5 separate regions of the Homo sapiens genome follow, and regions 1, 3, 4 and 5 are each linked to region 2. The links are contacts of gene promoters, found by promoter capture Hi-C in human tissues and cell types (Jung and others, 2019). All regions are on one chromosome and are shown on one strand. The core of a region is centred on a gene start or on the middle of the fragment in contact, and the rest is flanking DNA. Distances in the headings are between cores, read along the strand shown.

Region 1 (2,860 bases), core at 300-2,799, 180 kb before region 2:
GCAGTGGCGCGATCTCGACTCACTGCACGCTTTACCTCCCAGGTTCACACCGTTCTCCTGCCTCAGCCTCCTGAGTAGCTGGGAATACAGGTGCCCACTACCATGCCTGGCTAATTTTTTTGTATTTTTAGTAGAGACGGGGTTTCACCATGTTAGCCAGGATGGTCTCGATCTCCTGACCTCATGATCCGCCCGCCTTGGCCTCCCAAAGTGCTGGGATTACAGGCGTGAGCCACTGTGCCCGTCCAGATATTGATCTTTAACTTTCTGTTCTTAGCATTTTCTCATCAGGTTTTGCTGTCATGGTTATGCTGGCCTCATAAAATGAGTTTGGAATTTTTTTTTTTTTTTCCCTTAAGAGTCAGGGTCAAGGCCAGGTGCAGTGGCTCACACCTGTAATCCCAGCATTTGGGTAGGCTGAGGCGGGAGGATCACTTGAGGCCAGGAGTTCAAGACTAGCCTGGCCAACAAGTTGAAACCAGAGCTCTACTAAAAATACAAAAATTAGCCTGGCGTGGTGGCGCATACCTGTAGTCCCAGGCTACTCGGGAGGCTGAGGCAAGAGAATCGCTTGAACCCGGGAGGCGGAGGTTGCAGTGAGCCACGATCACGCCAGGGCACTCCAGCCTGGGCGACAGAGCCAGACTCCATCTAAAAAAAAAAAAAAAAAGTCAGGATCTCTCGCTCTTTCGCCCAGGCTGGAGTGCATTGGCAGTCACGTCTTGCTGCTCACTCAAGTGATACTCCCACCTCAGCCTCTCGTTTCAGCTGGGATACAGGTGCTCACCACCACATTTGCTTAATTTTTATTCATTGTAGAGACACGGTCTTGCCATACCGCCCAAGCTGGTCTCAAACTCCTGAGCTCAAGCAATCTACCCTCCTCAGCCTCCCAAATTGCAAGCTACCATGTCTGGCTTATTTTGTAGTTAATTCCTAATTAAAATCTATGGCAGAGCTGGACATGGTGGCCTTTCCCTGTAGTCCTAGCTATTCAGTGAGAGGATTGCTGGAAACCAAGGACATTGAGGCTTCAGTGAGCCATGATTGCATCACTGCACTGCAGCCTGGGCTAAGGAGTGAGACCCCGATTCAAAAAAACCCAAAATCATTCACTGAAAATCTAGTCTTTCGAAATTTATTCACACTTGGCTGGGCGCGGTGGCTCATGCCTGTAATCCCACCACTTTGGGAGGTCAAGGCGGGTGGATCACCTGAGGTCAAGAGTTCAAGACCAGCCTGGACAACATGGAGAAACCCTGTCTCTACTAAAAATACAAAAAAAAATTAGCCGGGTGTGGTGGTGGGTGCCTGTAATCCCAGCTACTCAGGAGGCTGAGGCAGGAGAATCACTTGAACTCGGGAGGCAGAGGTTGCAGTGAGCCGAGATTGCACCGTTGCATTCCAGCCTGGGCGATGAGTGAAGCTCTGTTTCAAAAAAAAAAAAAAATTATTCACACTTGTTTTATTTCACAGCATATAGTCTACTTTGGTGAACCTTTGCTTATACTACTTGAAAAGGACATATGTTGTGCCGTTTTTGAGTCTAGTGTTGTATAAATTTGTTTGTGTTTTGTTTTTTTGTTTTGTTTTGTTTCTGAGACAGAGTCTCGCTCTGTTGCCGAGGTTGGAGTGCAGTGGTGCAATCTCAGCTCACTGCAACCTCAGCCCCCAGGATTCTAGTGATTGTCCTGCCTCAGCCTCCTGAGTAGCTGAGATTATAGGCGCCCGCCACCACGCCTGGCTAATTTTTTTTGTATTTTTAGTAGAGATGGGGTTTTGCCATATTGGCCAGGCTGGTCCCGAACTTCTGATCTCAGGTGATCCACCCGCCTTGGCCTCCCAAAGTGCTAGGATTACAGGCATGAGCCACCTCGCCTGGCCCCCCCCCCCCCTTTTTTTTTTTGAGACAGCGTCTTGCTCAGTCACCCAGGCTGGAGTGCCGTGGCATAATCTCGGCTCACTGCAACCTCCGCCTCTTGAGTTCAAGTGATTCTCATGCCTCAGCCTCCCGAGTAGCTGGGATTACAGGCATGCACCACCACGCCCGGCTGATTTTTTTTGTATTTTTAGTAGAGACGGGGTTTCACCTTGGCCAGGCAGGTCTTGAACTCCTGACCTCAGGTGATCTGCCCACCTCAGCTGCCTAAAGTGCTGGGATTACAGGCGTGAGCCACACTGCGTCCAACTTTTTTTTTTTTTTTTTTTTTGAGACAGAATCTTGCTCTGTTGCCCAGGCTGGAGTGCATTGGCATGATCTCTGCTCACTGCAACCTCCGCCGGGTTCGTGTGATTCTTCTGCTTCAGCCTCCCTAGTAGCTGGGATTACAGGTGCCTTCCACCATGCCCTACTAATTTTTGTATTTTTAGTAGAGACAGGGTTTCACCACGTTGGCCAGGCTGGTCTTGAACTCCTGACCTTAGGTGATCTGCCTGCCTTGTCCTTCCAAAGTTCTGCGATTACAAGCATGAGCCACCGCGCCCGGATGACAAAGTAACTTTTATTCAACCACTACAGGGACAGATGCTGAGGGTGAAGTAGAAAACAGGCATTCAGTTTTCCAGTGTATGATTTTATGCATAATATAGCATTGTTTTAATTGAGATATACTTCACATAACATTAAATTAATTATTGTAAAGTACATACTTGCATTGTCACCCAGACTGGAATAACAGCTATGCGATCATAACTCACTGCAGACTTCACCTCCTAGGCTCAAGCGTTTCTTGTGCCTCAGCATCCCTGGTAGCTAGGACTTACAGGCATGAGCCACTACACCCAGTTATAAGGGCATTAATCCTGTTCTTGAGGGGCCTATCCTCCTGACTTAATTATTTTCCAAAGGCCTTACTTCTAA
Region 2 (2,700 bases), core at 26-2,525:
TGTGATTTAAGTAAGGTGCTCAGGGAAGGCCTCACGAATAAAGTGACATCGGAGCAGAGACCTGAAGGAAGTGGGGAATTTTAAAATCAGCTTAATATCTGGGAAAAGGGGCATTCCAGGAAGAGGGAAGAGTTAGTATAAAGGCTCTGAGGACAGGCATACAGGGCGTGTTGCAACCACACTGTTTTTTAACGAAGTCTCACACTGCTGCCCAGGCTAGAGAGCAATGGCGTGATCTCGGCTTACTGCAACCTCTGCCTCCCAGGTTCAAGCGATTCTACTGGCTCAGCCTCCCGAGTGGCTGGGATGACAGGCGCCCCCCACCACGCCAGGCTAATTTTTTGTATTTTTAATAGAGAAGGGGGTTTCACTATATTGGCCAGGCTAGTCTCGAACTCCTGACCTCGTGATCCCTCCGTCTAGGCCTCCCAAAGTGCTGGCATTACAGGTGTGAGCCACCGCGCCCAGCCGCAACCACACTTTCTTAGTGAGACCCACCCTGACAACCTCTTTAATTCTGGAACCTACCCCTGCCCCCATTGGTACTCTCTAATCCCACTTTGCTTTTCTCCACACAACTTTTCAAGATATAATTCCGTGTCGGCCGGGCGTGGTGGCTCATGCCTGTAATCCCAGCACTTTGGGAGGCCGAGGCCGGCGGATCACGAGGTCGGGAGATCAAGACCATCCTGGCTAACACGGTGAAACCCCGTCTCTACTAAAAATACAAAAAATTAGCCGGGCGTGGTGGCGGGCGCCTGTAGTCCCAGCTACACTCGGGAGGCTGAGGCAGGAGAATGGCGTGAACCCAGGAGGCGGAGACTGTAGTGAGCCGAGATCGCGCCACTGCACTCCAGCCTGGGCGACAGGGCAAGACTCCGTCTCAATTAAATAATAATAATAATAATAATAATAATAATAATAATAATAAATTCCCTGTCCTTTGTTTTTGTTCATCGATGTAGCCCAAGCTCCCAGGAGTGTGGGGCATACAGAAGGCGCTTGACAGCCACGTGTGGAGAAAAGGAGCCCGGGGCTGGGCAGAGAGCGAGGCCAAGGGAAGAAGAATACTCGGTCGCGTGGAGCCTTGGGGGCCCACTGGGAGGGCTCGGGCGCCACGCAGATCTGCGCGGAATGAGCCGCCAGAGGCCGCTGGCAGTCGCACAGAGAAGCCCATCGTTTCCTACCACCTGGGACTCGACGGACGTCTACGCGCGTGCGCAGCGGTCCCATCGAGGCACCCGCCTCATTGGCTGTGGCTGGCTCGCAAAAGTGGCATTGCGCATGCGCGCTTCCTTGCGCGAGCCGGGCTGTCGGGTGTGTTTTGCTCTCCAGCCTCCGTCGTCTCTGCAGCACTCCGGGTTCTCCTCCAGAGCGCTAGTCCCAGGAGCTCGGAATGTTCGTGGAACTTAATAACCTGCTTAACACCACCCCCGACAGGGCGGAGCAGGTAAGAGGTCCCGCTGGCCGGAAGGGGGCGGGACCTGGCAGGGCAGCGGAATACTGCATCCGGGAGGCGGTGCGCACGACCCCGGGGAATGGCGCGACGACCCGGCACGGGGTACCTGGGAGTTGTAGTCCGCAGAGGATCGACCCGGGGATTGGACTGGAGGCTTGGGCCCGCCGAAAGTGGGCTTCTGGGCCATCTCGCATATTCTCAACGGCTGTGCGTGTCCTTAAAAGTCCCTGGGAAGCGGCCGGGCGCGGTGGCTCACCCCTGTAATCCCAGCAGTTTGGGAGGCCGAGGCGGGTGCATCATCTAAGGTCAAGAGTTCGAGACAAGTCTGGCCAAGATGGTGAAACCCCCGTCTCTACGAAAAATACAAAAATTAGCCGGGCGTGGTGGCTCATGCCTGTAATCTCAGCTACTCGGGAGGCTGAGACAGGAGAATTGCTTGAACCCGGGAGGCGGAGGTTGCAGTGACCCGAGATCTCGCCACCGCACTCCAGCCTGGGCGACAGAGCGGGACTCCACCTCAAAAAAAAAAAAAAAAAGTACCTGGGAAGCATGGCCGACAGTGGGGTTGGGTTATATTCGCGGACGTGAACTGTGGCGCGCTGTGCATGTTCACTGGGGTGGGGGGTCCCAGGCGCTCAGAGGAGACTGCAGAATAGGCCCGAGAGGAGAGGGGAGTTCGTTTCGCCGCCGTCTTCATGGGCGAGCTTCCTAACCGCCACCTCGCCCCGGAGCAATTGGCACATTGTATTGAACGCTGCTGTTCTTCTTACTCTTCCTCCTTGTGATCTCTAATAGAACTGTTAGAAGCAGGACAGAGCCAAATTGGCTTGGACCAAGTCCGTCTTGGGCACCCCAGGCTGGCCTGTTCTCTCCACCCTCCTCACACTCCGGGGTACCTTGAAACCTTTCACATTTTAACGTAGGAGTAACCTCTTTCAGGAGTGTATCTTTTGGCTTATTTATTTATTTATTTATTTTTGATGGAGTCTCGCTCCCTCGCCTGGGCTGGAGTGCACTGGCGCGATCTCGGCTCCCTGCAACCTCACCTCCCGGGTTCAAGTGATTCTCCTTATTCAGCCTCCCAAGTAGCTGGGATTGCAGGCGTGCGCTACCACACCGGGCTAATTACTTGGCTGATTTTTTTTTGTATTTTTTGTTAGAGACGGGGTTTCACCATGTTGGCCAGGCTGGTCTGGAACTCCTGACCTCAGGTGATCCGCCCGCCTCTGCCTCCCAAAGTG
Region 3 (2,700 bases), core at 154-2,653, 150 kb before region 2:
GTCTAAAGTTTGAGGTAAAAAAACAAAACAGCACAACAAGAATAAGTAGCTATAAAAGGCCATGACAGTCTTTATGGAAGTTTGAAATTCTGTTGATATAATCAGGGCACCAGAATGAAAGAGAGATAATGGAGCCACTCTATTCCACAGTGACTAAAGAATTTTTTTTCAAGTTAATATATATGTACATGCGTATCTATATATATATGCACATATTTATTTATTTAATATAGAGGCAGGGTTTTGCTATGCTGTCCATGCTGGTCTTGAACTCCTGGTCTCTAGTGATCCTCCTGCCTCAGCCTCCCAGAGTACTTAGATTACAGACGTGAGCCACTGTACTGGGTTCACAGTTTCTTTTTTCTTTGAGAAGGAATCTCACTCTGTCACCAGGCTGGAGTGCAGTGACATGATCTCAGCTCACTGCAACCTCTGCCTCCTGGGTTCACGCAGTTCTTCTGCCTCAGCCTCCCGAGTAGTTGGGACTACAGGCACGCGCCACCATGCCCAGCTAATTTTTGTATTTTCAGAAGACACGGGGTTTCACCATGTTGGCCAGGATGGTCTCGATCTCTTGACCTCGTGATCTGCCCGCCTCAACCTCCCAGAGTGCTGGGATTACAGGCACAAGCCACCGCGCTTGGCCTTCACAATTTCTTTTAAGTCCACAACTGATTGCAGTATTCTTCCTGTTCATTTATAATTATTCTTGGGCTTGAAAGTGACAAGACTTGAATTTGTGAGCTCACTGATTCTCCCGTGATAGCTCTAGTGTTTGTCATGTATGCTTTGCTTTCTCATGCTATTTATTTTCCCTTAGATAATTAATAGACATAAAGGCTATGCCTGCAAAGAAAACTTGTAATTTATTAACATTTATTTATCACTGTAAGAGTTTCTCTCTCTCTCTTTTTTTTTTTTTTTTGAGACGGAGTCTCGCTCTGTCGCCCAGGCTGGAGTGCAGTGGCGTGATCTCGGCTCACTGCAAGCTCCGCCTCCCGGGTTCACACTATTCTCCTGCCTCGGCCTCCCAAGTAGCTGGGACTACAGGTGCCTGCCACCATGCCCGGCTAATTTTTTTGTGTTTTTAGTAGAGACGAGGTTTCACCATGTTAGCCAGGATGGTCTCGATCTCCTGACCTCGTGATCGGCCCACCTCAGCATCCCAAAGTGCTGGGATTACAGGCGTGAGCCACCGTGCCTGGCCCGAGTTTCTCTCATTTTTTATGCCAGCTAAATAATAGGAAACATAGCATTAGAAGATATTCAGTAACCAACATGAAAGATTTCCTCACAGTGTGCATACACTTTACATACTTTTTCTTGATGCAAAACCCAGGAAATATATCATTCTATGTACTTTTGAACTACACTAAGATGCATAGTAAATCTTCTATTAAAAAACTTTTCTTAAGGACAGAGATGTCCAATCTTTGGCTTCCCTGGGCCACATTGGGCCACACATAAAATACACTAACACTAACAATAGCTGATGAGCTTAAAAAAAAATCCCCCCAAAAAATCATAGTGTTTTAAGAAAGTTTATGAATTTGTATGGGCCACATTCAGCGCCATCCTGGGCCACATGTAGGCTGCAGGCCACAGGTTGGACAAGCTTGGTTTAGCTAAGAGAACCTTTTTTTTTTTTTTTTTTAATTAGGAAAACAGTCTGCCTTTTTACATTTGAGAGCCATAGCAAAGTCAGATTTATTTCTTGGTTTAGTTCAGTTTCCTGTGGTTTGAGTTCAGTAAACTTTATTAGGTATTGTGTTTTGGACACTGACAGACACTGCAGGTAGAGATCTGTAGAACACAATCTGTACCTTTAAGGAATTCATAGTCTGCTTAAGTGACAGAGAAAGATAAAACACAAAGCTTGAATGCGGAATTCCCAGCTTTATGATTAGAGGTATGTCCAGAGCACAAGAGCTGTACAGAGGAGTTGCTTTGCAAACAAGCCAGGTAGATAAGACATAATGAACAGGCTTCTGGGAATGGTATAGCTGTGTTGGTCCTAAAACATGATGTTTCCAGTGCAGAACAAATGGTTCATAGGCACAATACCTAGTAGGAATAGATCAGTGGGGCCTGTGTATTGTTGAAACGTGAAGAGTAGGGAATAGGGCGGGAGAAGTAGGCAGTGTCCTGATCATGTTTGGCTTAATTTCATAAGATAATGACACATAATAAAATAGTTTTAGGCAGGAGAGAAAGAGTGTTTTATGTAAAACATATTTCACCCTAGCAGCGTGGAGAAGGATGAAATTACTATAGAAAGGTAATTATAATAATCGATCTATGAGGCTGAGATGGAAGGATTGCTTGAGGCCAGGAATTGGACAGCAGCTTGGGCAACATAGCAAGACCGTGTCTCACAAAAAAAAAAAAAAGAGAGTGAGTGAGTGTATCCAGGTTAAGTAATGATGAAGACCTGAACCTGGGTTATGGCAGGATGAATGAAGCTGTTTTGTAGCATTATAAGATACTTACTAAAAACTTTCATTGAATCATCCTCCTTCCTGGCCAGTGTGTCACCGCATTATTCTCTTTTCAAAACATCACTTTAATTTGCCTCTCTTATTAGCATTATTATCAGTTCCTAGGCTCAGACATTTACAGATTCTCAACTCTGTGCTCTTCTGGATGCTGAGTCTTGCTTGGATTTTGTATCTCAGAAGTTTCCCCAACTCCACCTTTATT
Region 4 (2,700 bases), core at 176-2,675, 230 kb before region 2:
GACAAAGTTTCACTTCCTTGCCCAAGCTGGCCTCAAACTCCTGGCTTCAAGCAGTCCTCCCTTCCTCCCTGCCTTCTTTCTCAACCAGAGTACTGGGGTTACAGGCATTTTCTTTGGAACCATTTTGATTTATCTTTTTTATAAAAAAATTTGTTTTTTGAGATAAGGTCACACTCTGTCACCCAGGCTGGATTTGTCACCATCACAGTTCACTACAGCTTGACTTCCCATGCTCATGCAATCCTCCTACCTCAGCCTCCTGAGTAGGTGGGACTACAGGCGTGTGCCACCATGCCTGGCTAATTTTTATATTTATATTTATATTTATATTTATATTTATATTTATATTTTTTTGAGACAAATTCTGGTTTTATTGCCCAGGCTAGAGTATAGTGGCATGGTCTCAGCTCACTGCAACCTTTGCCTCCTAGGTTCAAGCCATCCTCCTACCTCAGCCTCCCAGTAGCTGGGGCTACAGGCACACTCCCCCCATGCCTGGCTAATTTCTTTTGCATTTTTTGTTGAGACGGGGTTTCACCATGTTGCCCAGGCTGGTCTTGAACTCCTGTGCTCAAGCCATCTGCCCGCTTCGGCCTGCCAAATGCTGGGATTACAGGTGTGAGCCACTCCTGCACCTGGCCTAATTTTTAAATTTTTTGTAGAGGTAGGATCTCACTGTGTTGCCCAAGCTGGTCTCAGACTCCTGGCCTCAAGTGATTCTTTCACCTTGGTGTCTCAAAATGTTAGAATTACTGGTGTGTAGCCAGGCACGATGGCTCATGCCTGTAATCACAGCACTTTGGGAGGTTGAGGCGGGCAGATCACCTGAGGTTGGGAGTTCGAGACCAGCCTGGCCAACATAGAGAAACCCTGTCTCTACTAAAAATGCAAAATTAGCCGGGCGTGGTCATGCATGCCTATAATCCCAGCTACTTAGGAGGCTGAGGCAGGAGAATCACTTGAACCTGGGAGGCGTAGGTTGCAGTGAGCCGAGATAGCACCATTGCACTCCAGCCTGGGCAACAAAAGCAAAATTCTATCTCAAAAAAAAAAAAAAAAAAAAATTACTGATGTGAGCCACTGCTCCTGGCCTATATTTAGCTTTTTAAAATCTTTCTTTTGACAGACTAATTACTCAAATTATAATATGTTTATGGAATTTAAAAGGAATTCTTTTGGGGAGGGGTATGGGGTCTTGCTATATTGTCCAGGCTGGTTTTGAATTTCTGTGCTCAAGTGATTCTTTCATCTCAGCCTCCCAAGTAGCTGCGACTATAGGTGTGAGCCACTGTACTGGCTACAAGAAAGTAGTTTCACTTCAGTTTATTTCATTTGATTTTTCTTGAGACAGCATCTCACTCTGTCATCCAGGGCTGGAGTGCAGTAGGGCGATCAGGGCTCACCGCAGGCTCAACCTCTCAGGCTGAAGTGATCCTCCCACCCCAGCCTCCTGGATAGGATTGCAGGTGTGTGCCACAATGCACAGCTAATTTTTAAATTTTTTTCTAGAGACTGGATCTCCCTGTGTTGCCCAGACTGGTCTTGAACTCCTGGGCTTAAGTGATCCTCCTGTTTCACGCTCCCAGAGTGTTGGGATTACAGGCATGAGCCACCATGCCCAGCCTAATCTACTTTTAGAAAAATGTATTGATTCCTCAGTTTATTCAAGAAGATGTTTAAGGAGGTTGTTTAATTAGTATTTGTTTATATATTTGAATTTATAAAACTTAGAATTAAGACATGAGTAATTTTGTCAGAAGCTTTATTTTTCTCATGTGTAATTTGTATCATTTTTAGGCAAAGTGTTTCATGGATTTCAAAGCTGGAGGCGCCTTATGTCACATTCTTGGGGCTGCTTACAAGTATAAAAATGAACAGGGATGGTAAGTTTTTGTATTTGTTTGCATGTTTTGATCTTAAGTTATTTACTTTTAAGTCCTGTTTCCTTGTGTTAGAAAATCCTGTAAGCACATGATGATTAATGTGTTTTACCAAGAGCCCTAATTTACCTTGTTTCTACATCCAAGAAAAATATCAAGCAACCACGTATTTATTTATTTTTGAGACAGGGTCTTAAAAATAGGACCAACCAAGGCTGTTGGCAAGGCTAGAAGTGCAGTGGTGGAATCTCAGGTCACTGCATCCCGCGCATCAGATTCAAGCAATTCTCATGCCCCAGCCTCCTGAGTAGCTGGGACTGTAGGCGTGCACCACCATGCCTGGCTAATTTTTCTATTTTTAGTAGAAATAGGGTTTTGTCATGTTGGTCAGGCTGCTCTCAAACTCCTGGCCTCAAGCACTCCACCCATCTCAGCCTCCCAAAGTGCTGGGATTACAGGCGTGAGCCACCGCACCCGGCCACAACCAAGTATTTATTAGGGAAGTGATTTCTTATATTTGATTTTTATAGTAACAGGTGTACATTGTTAGCAAATTAGAAGGTAGGCTTGCCATGAAATGTGTGTGTATAATGAACTCATACATTATATTTGAAGTGGATAGATAGTATTTTTGTTTGTTTGTTTTGTTTTTTTGAGACTTAGTTGCGCTTTTTCGCCCAGGCTGGAGTGAAGTGGCACCATCTCAGCTCACTGCAACCTTCCAGTGATTCTCCTGCCTCAGCCTCCTGAGTAACTGGGATTACAGGCACCTGCCACCACATGCCCAGCTAATTTTTGCATTTTTAGTAGAGATGGGGTT
Region 5 (2,700 bases), core at 25-2,524, 210 kb before region 2:
CATTTGCTTTCCAGGGAACATTTACGGATGAGAAGTCAAAAGCTTCCCACCACATTTACCCATATTCTTCCTCACAAGACGATGGTAAGTTAGTTTTGCGTTGTGAACAGATGAGCTCATACATCATACCAAATGGATTTTATGTCATACCCCCAAAGACTTAAACAGAATAACCAGCTTTTTATTTGTTTTTGTTTTGTTTTGAAGATGGAGTCTGTCGCCCAGGCTGGAGTGCAGTGGCGCGATCTCAGCTCACTGCCACCTCCACCTCCCGGGTTCAAGAGATTCTCCTGACTCAGCCTCCTGAGTAGCTGGGAATATAGGCGCCCACCACCATGCCCAGCTGTAATATTTGTATTTTTAGTAGAGACAAGAATTTCACCATGTTGGCCAGGATGGTGGTTTCAATCTCTTCACCTCGTGATCTGCCCACCTTGGCCTCCCAAAGTGCTGGGTTTACAGGTGTGAGCCACTGCGCCCAGCCAACATTAACTTTTAAAAGATGTAGTAGAAGCTGTGCCTAGAGGAACATTTATTTCTTTATATTAGGAAAGGAGAAAGGTTAGAAATCAGTGGTCCAAACATCTTTCTCAAGAAATTAGAAAAACAACACCAAATTAAACCTAACGAAAAAGGAAATAATAAAAGCAAAAATTAATGATGTAGAAAGTACACATTAGTGAGATATTCAGCAATGTCAGGTGGTTCTTAGACTAATGAGGGCTGGACCTGGTGTCTCACGCCTGTAATCCCAGCAGTTTGGGAGTCCGAGGTGGGTGGATCACTTGAGGTCAGGAGTTTGAGATCAGCCTGACCAAAATGGTGAAACCCCATCTCTACTAAAAATACCAAAAATTAGCCGGCTGTGCTGGCACCCATTTGTAACCCCAGCTACTTGGGAGGCTGAGGCAGGAGAATCGCTTGAACCTGGGATATGGAGGTTGCAGTGAGTCAAGATCTTGCCACTGCACTCCAGCCTGGGTGACAGAAGGAGACTCCATCTCAAAAAAAAAAAAAAAAAAAAAAAAAAGGGACTAATAAGGTGGTTAAATCCGGGTGTGGTGATACGTGCCTGTATTCCAGCTCCTCTGGAGGCTGAGGTGGGAGGATCACTTGAGGTCAGGAGTTTGAGACTGTGGCATGTGATAATTGTGCCTTTGCGTAGCCATTGCACTCCAACCTGGGCAACATAGTGAAATCTCATGTCTTAAAAAACAAGGCCTGGCGCTGTGGCTCAGGCCTGTAATCCCAGCACTCTGGGAGGCCAAGGCGGGTGGATCACCTGAGGTCAGGAGTTTGAGACCAGCCTCACCAATATGGCGAAATTTAACCAAGAGTGGTGGCAGGTGTCTGTAATCCTAGCTACTCGGGAGGCTGAGGCAGGAGAATCGCTTGAACCTGGGAGGTGGAGGTTGCAGTGAGCTGAGATTGCACCACTGCGCTCTAGCCCGGGCAAGAAGAGCAAAACTCTGTCTTACCTAAAAAAAAAAACAAAAAACAACCTATTGGTAAAAGAGGAAAATGGCCAAAACCCAGGTTAAAATAATTAGGTGAATGGATAAACAAATTGTGGTATGTACACACAGTACAATTTTTTTTTTGAGATGTAGTCTTTGTTCTGTCACCCAGGCTAGAGTGTAGTCATGTGATCTCGGCTCACTGCAACCTCCGCCTCCTGGGTTCAAGTGATTCTCCTGCCTCAGCCTCCTAAGTAGCTGGGATTACAGGTGCCCACCATCATGCCCAGCTAATTTTTGTATTTTTAGTAGAGATGGGGTTTCACCGTCTTGGCCAGGTTGGTCTCGAACTCCTGACCTCATGATCCACCTGCCTCGGCCTCCCAAAGTGCTGGGATTATAGGCGTTAGCCACCGTGCCCGGCCAGTTTTTTTGTTTTAAGGTGGAGTCTTGCTGTGTCACCCAGAATGGAGTGTAGTGGCGTCATCTTGGCGCACTGCAGCCTCCGCCTCCTGGGTTCAAGCGATTCTCCTGCCTCAGCCTCCCGAGTAGCTGGGACTACAGGAGTGCACCACCACACCCAGCTAATTTTTTTTGTATTTTTAGCAGAGACAGGGTTTCACCATGTTGGACAGGCTTGTCTCAAACTCCTGACCTCAAGTGATCCAAACGCCTCAGCCTCCCAAAGTGCTGGTATTAGAGGCGTGAGTCACCACTCCTGGTCCCACACAGTGGAATATTATTCAGCCTTGAAAAAAAAAGGAAATTTTAACACATGCTAATAACATGGAGAAATACCATATGATTCCAATTTTATGAAGTACCCAAAGTAGTGAAATTCATTGATACTGAATATAACATGGTTGTTATCAGAGACTAAGAATTTGACCACCTTAGATGAAATCATACAGAATTTGTGTTTTTATGATTAATTTGTTTTGCTTAGTGTAATGTCTTCAAAGTTTATTCATGTTACAGCATGTGCTAGAATTTCCTTTTTAAGCCTGGCTAATGCTCCATCAGGGAGTTGCTGTTCATTGGGTGTAGGGTTTTAGTTTCATAATGTACAGAGAGATCTGGAGATTGGACATGCAACACTGGGTGTACCTAACAGTACTAAACTGCTTACTTATAAAATGGTTAAAATGGTAAATTTTATGTTTACCGTCTTAACAGAAAGCAAGCAAAACACTGATTAATAGAATAAAGCATTGGCAATAACAATAATAATGATGAAGCAATC

The links. Contacts are between HindIII fragments. The study calls those that stand out against the background at their distance.
Region 1: a fragment that was not itself captured here is called in contact with the fragment with the promoter of ELP6 in region 2 in 3 of the 25 tissues and cell types used here (bladder, hippocampus and spleen).
Region 3: a fragment that was not itself captured here is called in contact with the fragment with the promoter of ELP6 in region 2 in 1 of the 25 tissues and cell types used here (IMR-90 fibroblasts).
Region 4: a fragment that was not itself captured here is called in contact with the fragment with the promoter of ELP6 in region 2 in 3 of the 25 tissues and cell types used here (H1 embryonic stem cells, hippocampus and mesendoderm cells).
Region 5: a fragment that was not itself captured here is called in contact with the fragment with the promoter of ELP6 in region 2 in 1 of the 25 tissues and cell types used here (adrenal gland).

Annotation. Positions count from the first base shown.
Region 1 is chr3:47,695,113-47,697,972 of GRCh38, reverse strand. The region is part of intron 11 of SMARCC1 (SWI/SNF related BAF chromatin remodeling complex subunit C1); the gene reads left to right. Among named protein-coding and RNA genes, the nearest start is that of HIGD2AP2, 34 kb to the right of the region's middle. The HindIII fragment of the contact is 4,536 bases long and covers 1-2,860 here.
Region 2 is chr3:47,512,287-47,514,986 of GRCh38, reverse strand. It overlaps ELP6 (elongator acetyltransferase complex subunit 6), which reads left to right and starts at 1,275. Exons shown (of 7, transcript NM_001031703.3): 1 at 1,275-1,450. The coding sequence starts at 1,397. RefSeq lists enhancers at 1,311-1,420, 1,751-1,860. The HindIII fragment of the contact is 13,702 bases long and covers 1-2,700 here.
Region 3 is chr3:47,665,543-47,668,242 of GRCh38, reverse strand. All of the region lies in intron 19 of SMARCC1 (SWI/SNF related BAF chromatin remodeling complex subunit C1), which reads left to right. Among named protein-coding and RNA genes, the nearest start is that of HIGD2AP2, 4.2 kb to the right of the region's middle. The HindIII fragment of the contact is 6,014 bases long and covers 1-2,700 here.
Region 4 is chr3:47,745,091-47,747,790 of GRCh38, reverse strand. It overlaps SMARCC1 (SWI/SNF related BAF chromatin remodeling complex subunit C1), which reads left to right. Exons shown (of 28, transcript NM_003074.4): 3 at 1,798-1,883. Among named protein-coding and RNA genes, the nearest start is that of SMARCC1, 35 kb to the left of the region's middle. The HindIII fragment of the contact is 9,491 bases long and covers 1-2,700 here.
Region 5 is chr3:47,726,409-47,729,108 of GRCh38, reverse strand. It overlaps SMARCC1 (SWI/SNF related BAF chromatin remodeling complex subunit C1), which reads left to right. Exons shown (of 28, transcript NM_003074.4): 6 at 15-84. Among named protein-coding and RNA genes, the nearest start is that of SMARCC1, 54 kb to the left of the region's middle. The HindIII fragment of the contact is 5,354 bases long and covers 1-2,700 here.